4 separate regions of the Homo sapiens genome follow, and all the other regions are linked to region 1. Evidence: promoter capture Hi-C in 16 types of primary human blood cells and fetal thymus (Javierre and others, 2016). All regions are on one chromosome and are shown on one strand. The core of a region is centred on a gene start or on the middle of the fragment in contact, and the rest is flanking DNA. Distances in the headings are between cores, read along the strand shown.

What was found. The method cuts DNA at HindIII sites, captures the fragments that hold promoters and counts their contacts. A CHiCAGO score of 5 or more calls a contact.
Region 2: a contact is called between a fragment that was not itself captured here and the fragment with the promoter of HACD1 in region 1, in 4 of 17 cell types (M1 macrophages, fetal thymus, M2 macrophages and 1 more). The highest score is 8.0, in M1 macrophages.
Region 3: a fragment that was not itself captured here is called in contact with the fragment with the promoter of HACD1 in region 1 in 2 of 17 cell types (M2 macrophages and fetal thymus); the score reaches 6.1 in M2 macrophages.
Region 4: a fragment that was not itself captured here is called in contact with the fragment with the promoter of HACD1 in region 1 in 2 of 17 cell types (M1 macrophages and monocytes); the score reaches 5.6 in M1 macrophages.

What each region holds. Positions count from the first base shown.
Region 1 is chr10:17,616,093-17,618,637 of GRCh38, forward strand. It overlaps HACD1 (3-hydroxyacyl-CoA dehydratase 1), which reads right to left and starts at 1,282. Exons shown (of 7, transcript NM_014241.4): 1 at 991-1,282. The coding sequence starts at 1,247. RefSeq lists a silencer at 823-1,482. The HindIII fragment of the contact is 16,531 bases long and covers 1-2,545 here.
Region 2 is chr10:18,193,695-18,196,239 of GRCh38, forward strand. All of the region lies in intron 2 of CACNB2 (calcium voltage-gated channel auxiliary subunit beta 2), which reads left to right. Among named protein-coding and RNA genes, the nearest start is that of CACNB2, 55 kb to the left of the region's middle. The HindIII fragment of the contact is 1,933 bases long and covers 302-2,234 here.
Region 3 is chr10:18,169,768-18,172,312 of GRCh38, forward strand. The region is part of intron 2 of CACNB2 (calcium voltage-gated channel auxiliary subunit beta 2); the gene reads left to right. Among named protein-coding and RNA genes, the nearest start is that of CACNB2, 31 kb to the left of the region's middle. The HindIII fragment of the contact is 501 bases long and covers 1,029-1,529 here.
Region 4 is chr10:18,146,737-18,149,281 of GRCh38, forward strand. The region is part of intron 1 of CACNB2 (calcium voltage-gated channel auxiliary subunit beta 2); the gene reads left to right. Among named protein-coding and RNA genes, the nearest start is that of CACNB2, 7.6 kb to the left of the region's middle. The HindIII fragment of the contact is 1,172 bases long and covers 689-1,860 here.

The DNA of each region.
Region 1 (2,545 bases), core at 32-2,531:
CCCGTCTCTACTAAAAATACAAAAAAATTAGCCAGGCGTGGTGGCGGGCGCCTGTAGTCCCAGCTACTCGGGAGGCTGAGGCAGAAGAAAGGCATGAACCCGGGAGGCGGAGCTTGTAGTGAGCCGAGATCCCGCCACTGCACTCCAGCCAAGACCGAGCGAGACTCCGTCTCAAAATAAATAAATAAATAATAAAAAGAAAAAAAGAAAATAGTAAACTTTTCCTCGCGTTTACATAAGTTAATACTTCGAGTGATAATGGGAAAATAACTTTTTTAAAAGGCAGTGCAATTGAGAAATGGAAAAGCATTTTCCCAACAGGTTTTGAGAAGCAGTTGACACAAAAGTCACTTTGAGAGCTCTGCGAAGAGCGACAGTCATTGTGTAACCTTAACTTGCAAAGTCATACTCAAAGCCAAAAATCAAGGTCCAGCTTATCAGCCACGGAGCCTGAGGCCATAAAGATGCTGGGCAGGAGCTCCACGCTGGGATAAGTGGGGTGGTTATTTCAAAATCGTCCCAAGTGACAAGCTCTAGGACGTGCTGTGCTTTAAAAAAAAAAAAAAAAAAAAGTCGCGGTGAAATTAACAGGGGCGAAAACTCTGCCCAGCGATCGCAGCATGAAGCTCTGCGCTCCCGAGACCATCGAGTGGCCAGGGCTGGGCGCTCCTTCAACAGCAGCGAAGGCAGCGGCGCCGGGGCAGCAGCCACCTCCCCCGCGGGCCGGCACCGCATTCCTGCCCGGTTCTATACTTAACCTCCGGCCAGCGCCCCGCCGTGCACCGTATTAGGCAATGCCAGGCGCGCAGGGCCCGGCCCCCCCGCCCGCTCCATTCAACCCCGGCGGTGGCCGCGGCGACAGCTCCCTTCCCCCACGGCCGCTGCCCGCACCCCCCGCGCCCCTTACACCCCGGCCCGCGCCCCCTGAACCCGGAACCTCCGCGGACCGCGGCGCGGGGAGGGCCCGAGGGTGCCCCGCGGCGCGCGTACCCCGCGGTCATGGCGATGTCGTAGAAGGTGAGCCAGGCGGTGGCCAAGACCCCCAGGCGCCTCCGCTCGCCGGGAGCCTCCCGGTCCTCGCCGGCCTCCGAGGCGCCGCCGTTGGTGCCGTCCTCGTCGCTGGACGCCATGGTGGCCGCGCACCTGGGGGACGTGGGAGACAGCGGCAGGAGCGTGGGAGGGGACCCTGCCCAGCCTGCAGCCCGAGAGCCGCTGCCCGCTGCCGCCGCTTCCGTCAGGCGCCCCATGTGCAGCGCGCAGGGGGCTCGGCGCAGCCAGCTCTACCGACCGCGAGGGGGAGGAGCGGACGCCCCCGGCCACCGCCCGTCACGCCCCCGCCCCGCCCCGCCCCTTGGGAGCGCGCGCCACTCGGGGGCCAGAACGCCTGGCCCTGGCACTGGGGATCCAGGACCCGCGAGCCCCGGCACGCTTTCCAGGCGGCGCTGTAGTTTCCGCTCCCGAGGAAAGTGCACCCGCCTCGCTAGCTGCGGGCGCCTCTTCATAGAGAGACGCCCAGACGCCTTGCGCCCTGGCGATGCGCACCCTGCGAGTGCATTTAGTGGGGACACAGGGAACGCACCTGAACTTGGCGTGGCTCTGCCCTGCCTGGCCTTTTGTAAGGCAGTTTCTCAATACGCAGGCAGGGAGCGGGATCTTCCCGCCACTCATTCTTTTCTTTTTAGAGATGCGGTCTCAGTCTGTCTCCTAGGCTGGAGGGCAGTGACGTGAACATAGCTCACTGCAATTTCGTGAGCTCAAGCAATCTTCCCACCTCTGCCTTCCAAAGTTCTGTGATTACAAGCCTGAGCCACAGCGCTGGGCCAAACATTCATTCATTCTTAAGAGCTTCTGGGGAAGAAACGCCTATTTCGCCCTGTTTCCCGTTTACTAGCGAGTCCAACAGGTCTTCCAACAGTGAGAAGACCGTCCCACTTGAGTGATTTTTTTTTCCTTTTTCATTTCTTATTTTTTTTTTTTTTTACAGTCTGGAGTGCAGTGTTGTGATCTCGGCTCACTGCAACCTCCGCCTCCCTGATTCAAGAGATTCTCCTGCCTCAGCCTCCCGAGTAGCTGGAACTACAGTCATGCACCACCACGCCCGGCTAATTTTTGTTATTTTTAGTAGAGACGGTTTCACCACGTTTGCCAGGCTGGTCCCGAACTCCTGGCCTCAAGTGATCCACCCGCCTTGGCTTCCCAAAGTGCTGGGATTACAGGCGTGAGCCACCGCACCCGGCCTCACTTGTGTGAATTTTACCGGAGCGTGTGTGTGTGTGTGTGTGTGTGTCTGTGTGTCTGTGTGTCTGTGTGTGTGTCTATTTACCAAGTGTCAGGCCTCTGAGCCCAAGCTAAGCCATTATATCCCCTGTGACCTGCACGTATACATCCAGATGGCCTAAAGTAACTGAAGAATCACTAAAGAAGTGTGGCCGGTTCCTGCCTTAACTGATGACATTACCTTTTGAAATTCCTTGCACCTACTGAAATACAACCCCCAAATTCCTGAATCCTCCCATTTTATTAGCTGTGTGAACTTGGACAACGT
Region 2 (2,545 bases), core at 18-2,517, 580 kb after region 1:
GGGCTATGGAGGAGTGCTTGTAGAAAGGAAACTAAAGCTTTCTGGACAAACAGATAAACTCCTAGATTCATTCATTTATTCAGTAAATATGTATGCATCCTGATTATATGCTGGGTACTCCTCTGGGTGCTCATGAAGCATCAGTCACTCAAACACATGAAGCTTGTTGCTTTTGTGAGCTTCCATTCTGCAGGGGAAGATAGACATTGAGCAATAAGCTTAATAAATACATCCTATGGTATGTTAGGAGGTGATAAGTGCTACAGAAAAAAATAAAAAGAAAAAGTAGACCAGGATAGAAAGCTTCTGGAGTATTGGGTTGGGGAAAGTGGGGTAGACCTTTTGGAGAAGCTGTGGTGTGAGCACAGTCTGGAAGGAGTTGAGTATGAAGGATTCTCTCAATCAGAGTTTATCCAGACAGAGATGCCCCATGCCTCTGAGCTCACTGCTGTGGTTCCTTTCCTGTCATCTGAGTCCCTGCTCTTCCAGGTTTTCACAGTCATCTCTTGATGTTCATCTGTCTCCTTCACTTTGCTCAATACACTAAGATGTCTTTGCAGTTGCAACTGGTTAATGAATGACGGTGAAAATTAGGCCCCTAGGGCTGTCAGCAACTCCAGGCCCCCCAGCTGAAGGAAGCCAGGTGGGAGTGAACCAAATCTTCCCAATTTACCTGACAATGAGACTCAAAGTTGTAAAGACTGTAGGCTATAGCTCAGTTTGTCAGGGATTCTAGAATCTTCTAGAAGGGGCTTCTAGAAGATTCTGGACATCTTTATAGCTCAGACAATTTGTAATTATCAGGTACCCCATGGGCTTCTGGTGTTGTGCCCTGAGGGCAACCAACAAAGGCTTTAAGTTTATCAGGTTCCTCTCTGTGATGTCCTCTTTTAAATCAGACCTGTTCATTCTGGGACAGGCAATCACAGCTGAGGCAATAGATGGGTGTGGGGGAGATATATTTTGTTTAGTGTCTCCTATTAGAAGATTTTCACTTGAAAGATGAGAATTGGAGTCTTTTTGTCCCTGAGAAAATATCCAGATTCAACCTTATCTTTGCAGGCCTTTTACAAAATTCTGTGCTGAAGTCTGTGTTTTATGAAACGAACATTCCTACAATTATGTTTTTAGCAGTTCCAGTCATGTGACATGGAATACAGTTTCGACATCATGATGTCCATTCACTTTATAGTGATGTTGATTTCCAGTTTCTCAGAAGATTCATTTCAGAAATAAGAATTGCTCTGGTTTCAAACTTTTAGCTCTAAATTCAGCATTTGGAGACCTTCAATGAGGCTGATTCTTAGGATGTGTATGGTCTCAAATTTTTTTTCCTTAGAGTTTAAAAATATATGACCAAGTATAATGAAGATATGGCATTTCTTTAAATATCCAGCTACTGCAAAGGAGAGTTTAAGATGACCTCAGGAATGCTTTCCCAAAATGTAATGGGCTTTGCTCTTTTTCACTCCAGCTATTTTAGGCAGTCATTAAACAGTTGTTAGCAGTTTAGTAAGTTTATATAAAAGTGCATATTTTGAGGCTTTACATGCCACAGGAGAAGTTCCAATGTAAACAGAGGAAGACAGAATCAGTGCTTCAAACGGAAGCGCCCAGCACTATATTCTCATACCAGTTGAGGAAATGCTTACACATACAAGCCCATCAACACACATTGACCCACCCCAGCTATCAGAGAGGTTCTGGGATAATTGATCTCTCAGGGGGTATCAAGTGGGACCAATCAGGCGAGATCCCAGTTCTAGTTCTGGGTGGGTCAACGAGATTCACTTTGTGCTGGGGTTACAGATTGTGTCTCAGCTTTTGGTAAATGTCTCATAAATGCATTCCACTCATCAAGAGAGCGTGGATTATGAGCTCCTGGCTCTCGGCCAGAGAGATGCGCAGCAATGCTGGGATGCACGTGCCAAGAATGTTCTCTGTTCTTTAGACTGTTCAGACTGTCGGTGCCTGACCAGGCAGAGATGGCTCTTTGTCACTGTGATACCTGCATTCGTTGATAAGTGGTGGGGCTCACCCCTCAATCTGTGGACTGGTTCTGACACTGGTCCATTTCTCCTTGAGTTGTTGCAGAAGAAGAAAAAAAGCAGTAAAAGCTGTCGCTTTCTGTGTAATGTCTATGAACTTGCATTTGTCATCAGAGTCAACTCTTTGGTACAGAGCATACTCTTCTTTGTTTCATTAATTAAAATGCATCTGTAGTCTTCAAAACAAGCTTTTATCTGGATCTCTGTGATTCCTTTTTAAAATTCTTTATTTCTCTCTCTGTGAATCTCAGCAGCAATAGTAACCCTAGTGATGGCCAGCACTGAGCACTTACTATGTCCCCAGGCTCTGTTTTGCATGAGCTTTACACATATTAACTCATTTGATCCACAACGTATCCCTGCCAAAAGGAAGCTAATATTATTATTACTATTCTTATTTTACAGATGTGACACAGAGATTAAGTAAATTGCTTATAATTACATGGCTTGTAACTGTGGGGTTTGTACCCACTATGTGGCTTCAAAGTTGACTTTAA
Region 3 (2,545 bases), core at 29-2,528, 550 kb after region 1:
CTATGCTGATCGTCTAAAAGAGGGAAAACAGGGTACATCAGTTAGAATTCTCTGTTGCAGGAGACCACAAACATGACTCAGGCTGGCTTTAAAGCAACAAGGACATTTATGGACTCATGTAACTGCAGAGCCCAGTTGTCAATAGCTCATTGATGTCATTGGGCAGCTGATGTCTTTCCATCTCTGGCCTCTACTGTCTTCCATGTTGGTTTCATTCTCAGCTCTAGGTGATGACAAGATGGCTCCCAACAGCTTTAGGCCCACTTTCTTCCTGGTTCATACTGCAGTGCACCTCATTGGCTCTGGTTGGATGATGGCATGTCCATGAACTAATCACTGAGGCTGGGGATCTGTGACCCACTGATGGGCCTGGCCCAAGCCATAAGTTCACTTTAGAGGTGGGAGAAAAATCAACTCCACACAAGGCTAAGAATGAGGAGGGGTGTTCCTTCTCAGAGGGCTATTTCTGGAGGAGGAATGAATGGATGTAGGATGGTAACAAAAAGAACTGAGGTCCACTTTACAGAATGAATGAATGAAGTTGACCTGAGAGCTCTCAGATTCCTACAGATGGCTTAAGAAAATGCCAGACTCCAGGGAAAGGTGAAAGAATAAGTCCTTGCCATCCCTCCAGCCTTTTTCAAACTATAGTGCACCCTTTTCTATTTAGTAGAAGTGGATTCCTGATGGCATTGAGAGTGAGTCTGTGAAAATATATCTTCCTGGGAATATACGTGTAAATATACTGGCATCAGAACATGCATTCAGAGTCATGTGTACTGCCTCTATATTTTTAAAATTTTCAATTCTTAGTCTTCGTGATAAAACCACGCCCCACTGCCATTAAAAATTAGAATGTTGGTGGGTTGTGTGTTTGTGTGTTGAAAAACCCTTGTGAGGACAAGAAGACTAACTAAATCAAATTTTTATAGTCTTAATGACATTTGAGCAGCACTGACGTGCTAGAGGGAAAACAGTTATGTTGGTTTTAGAAACCAATACGTTGTATTCTTGACAATGCTCTTTTAAGCTTGATTATAGTATTGTCACATTTTACCACAATACTAGACATCTTAGAGAAATTTAATAACATGTTTGGGAATCTTACTAATTGGGGGAAATTAACATATTAAGATTTTCCATATATTTTTTAAAGTAATGATAATTCTTGCATGGAATCTTAATTCAATGGAAGAGAAGATTCATTTACCGCCTTGCAAGGTGCTCAAGACCGTGTGTGCTCTATTTGGTACCGCTGGCTGCATCATTAAACGCACACTCTGCCTACCTGCAGAGAAAATCGCTGTTCTTGTTGTTTTTAGATCTTTGTAGTCATAATTGTCCATTATGTTTAACAGCACTGGAGATTTTGCAAGTGGAATTGGGTAGATCTGTTAAGGACATTCAGTCCTGTCTTCTGCCAGGCATTAGGGTCTCTTCTAGCATGTTTCACTCAATTTCTCCAGCCAAGAAATGTAGGGTTATTCTTTGGAAAGGGGATTGTGATAAGTTAGGATATTTTGGTTGTAAGCTTCAGAATCCCATTTCAAAGTTGCATAGGCAACAAGAGATATGTTGCCACCCATAACTGTAACAGTCAGGGGTATTCCTGGGCTGGGGGCAGGATGCTGCCTGGACTGTGTCTCCCCCGCATGGGTATTTGATTCTCTATAACCCAAACCAGATTTCCCCATGCAGGCAGCAACATGGCAGTTGGAAGCTCCAGGCTCCCTTCTTCCCGGCTTTGATAGCAGAAAAAAAAAAAAAAAAAAAAAAAAAAAAGGCTATTTGTTCTTCTTCATCCTTCTTAATTCCAGTTTAAAAAAAAAAAAAAAAGGAAGGACTCTTATTTGACTCACTTAGTTTACACACCACCGTTCACACACCACCGTTTGGACTCATCTGTTTGGACAAGGATGAAGCACTCTGATGAACCAGTTGGGATCAAGTACCATCAGAGTTGGCAGCAGGGCACAATTCTGAGTTTAATGCAGAAAGGAGGGTGGGAATTGTTACCCGGAGAAGTCAAATACAATAAATAAAGATGTTGGGCAAGCAGATTATTAGTGGCAATAACACACTTCTGTTATTACATCAATGCTTACATCAGTGTCTGCCCCTCACCTCCCACCCCACTATGTGCAGAGCAAAAGCTGACATTTCATAAATACTCTGTTTCTTCTCTGTGGAGCTAACTGATCCTCCTTTAGGCATATATCTAGATGAATAGTAGAGGAAACTAAGAAGGTAGAAAGTCTAGGACCGTGCGGGATTACAAAACCAGGATCTTGGCATGTTTCAAGGGCAAAAAGTGGTGGGGCACAGTGTCCCAGGCCTGTAATCCCAGCACTTTGGGAGACTGAGGTGGGAGAATCACTTGAGGTCAGGAGTTCGAGACCAGCCTGGCCAACATGGCAAAACCCCGTCTCTACTGAAAATACAAAAAATTAGCCGAGTGTAGTGGCAAGTGCCTGTAGTCCCAGCTACTCAGGAGGCTGAGGTGGGAGGATCACTTGGACTGGGGAAGTGGAGGTTGCAGTGAGCC
Region 4 (2,545 bases), core at 25-2,524, 530 kb after region 1:
CTACCTCCCAAAGTGCTGGGATGACAGGTGTGAGCCACTGTGCCCAGCCTAACTTTTGTATTTTTTAGTAGAAACAGGGTTTCGCCATGTTGGCCAGGCTAGTGTCAAACTCCTGACCTCAGGTGGTCCACCCACATTGCTTTCTCAAAGTGCTGGGATTACAAGCATGAGCCACCGTGCCCGGCCTAATTTTAAGTGTCAGTATTTTGCTCATGGGAAGTAATCTGTAGGTAGGAGAAGTGTCACAATAACCATAAAAGCACAGAAGCCACATCATTCTTCAGGTTGTCCCCAGGGGCTGCCAAGACAACTTTGAGTGCACGGCTAAAATCTCCAGTTAACTGACAACTTCTGTAATTAATTATTCCTGTCTCCTTCAATCATGCAGCAATTAGATTTTCATTACCTGTGAAAAGGTCAACATTTATTTGCTGATTTTTAAGACTGGAGTCCATTCTTAAGTTACTTCGTGTCAAGGAAGATGGATATTCATTCACACTAAGCTGATATTAACATCATGATGGATTTTGAATGTCTTTTTAATAAGTCATTAATATATTTTTGGAAATTTCTTAAGAATTTTTTTCCCTAGTTTCTGAAATCTTAGCTTGATGTTTTGGAACAACTAAAGGAATATAAATATAAGAGTTTTTTTTTTCTTTTTACTGTGGTGACATAATTTGTTTTAAGCTTCATATAGCTAATAGCAATTAGTGGAAATTAGTGACTTTTGGGACTCTTTCAAGAAGGACACAGAGACCTGCATGTGTCAGGGAGAATCTATAGGTAACACCTTGTACTACAGCCAAATCCCCTTTCCTGTCTCCCCTTTTCCTTATACAACCTGGGCTGCACTAATGATTAACTGTTTCAGATATTGGGCGTTCATATATTTTAATGCTGGTAAAAAATATTTAGAAAAACTGTTCACAAAAGTAGCTGCACTTGAAGTAGCAAATTAACTAAAACAATTACATATATTTTTTTTTTCAAATTTAGTCAGCTAAATATTTGAACACTTAATCTTCCCTGTCTTTTCCGTTTGGGAGAGGTTTGGCCTTCACTTTTTTCCCCCCTTAATTCCTTCAGAAGAAGTAGTCTAGTCCTTATTTTCAAGGATTTCAAGTAACTGAAAACCAAATCTTTCGAGCAAGATGGACTTAATTTTAAATACACATTAGATTAAAATAAATTTAATTTTGTAATAGCAGGATGAATTTTCACTAACATTTTTAAAGGTATATGAAAATGGACTATTAGCTTTCCAAAGATGCTTTAAATGTTTTTTTGTTTTCTGATCCTGACTGTTATTATAATAACAAAATAACTGGTCAGTAAGTAATCACTCTACAGTTTTTTAAAAAAAAAGAAACTTTAGAAGAGAAATTCCTGTGGAAATTAGTAAAATAACAGAATAGAGATATAATGAAGCATATATATTTATTTTGTCTTTTAATATGATATATGATAGGGATTTGCTCTAACACTCTTAAGGCATGAGCAAATGAATACTTTAAATAAATCATCCCTTATACACTTAAGTAATTGAAGAACAATTTTTTTTCTCAAAACTATCACCAGCATGCATGCAGTTCAGTGTGCTATAGTTGTTTGGTGTATAAACTATCTTAGTACAGTTGAAAACTGTAATAATTTCATTACATATACTTTGCATAGGTAGCTAAGTACGCCTGAAATAACATTTATGAACAGGATTCCCAGGGGTCTGGAAAAATTAATGTGAGTTTTTAAATGTGTTCAACTTCTTGCAGAGAACAGCCACCTCCTCTGTGACTGAATGTCTTCAACATTGTGTGGCTCTCACAGTGCCTGTTGTACAATTGTAAGCAACCACAAAAAAGCTTACACATTCAAGAAGTTGGATAATGAGACATATTTATCACTAAAATGCTAAAATTAAAGGACAATAGAATTGCGAAGATACTCTTTTCTGTTCATTTAAAAACGGTACTGGAGGCTGGACATGGTAGCTCACTCCTGTAGTCCCACCACTTTGGGAGGCTGGGGCGGGAGAATTGCTTAAAGTCATGAGTTCAAGACCAGCCTAGGCAACATAGTGAGACCCTGTCTCTACAAAAAACAAAAATTAGCCAAGCACGGCAATGTGTGCCTGTAGTTCCAGTTACTTGGGAGGCTGAGGTGGGAGGATTGCTTGAGCCCAGAGGGTGTGGGGTGTAGTCAAGGCTGCAGTGAGCCATGATCATATCACTGCACTCCAGCCTGGGTGACAGCACAAGACACTGTCTCAAAAAAAAAAAAAAAAATGGGATGAGATTATATTTTGTCTTTGTTCTCAAAGATAATTCATGTTCCTCATGAGGATAAACGGTGAATTTAACAAAGATTGTCGCTACACCCCCAAAGAAACAGGCCTTAAAAATACTTTCTAGGTAATAAGTATTTTTGCACATAGGTTAATATAAATTTAAAAGAAAATTTTAAAGAGATTTTCATACTTTATTTTAGCCTTCTTAGGCCTTAGAAAATGCATCTGTCCAAACCTTTACATAATAATTGGAAAAGA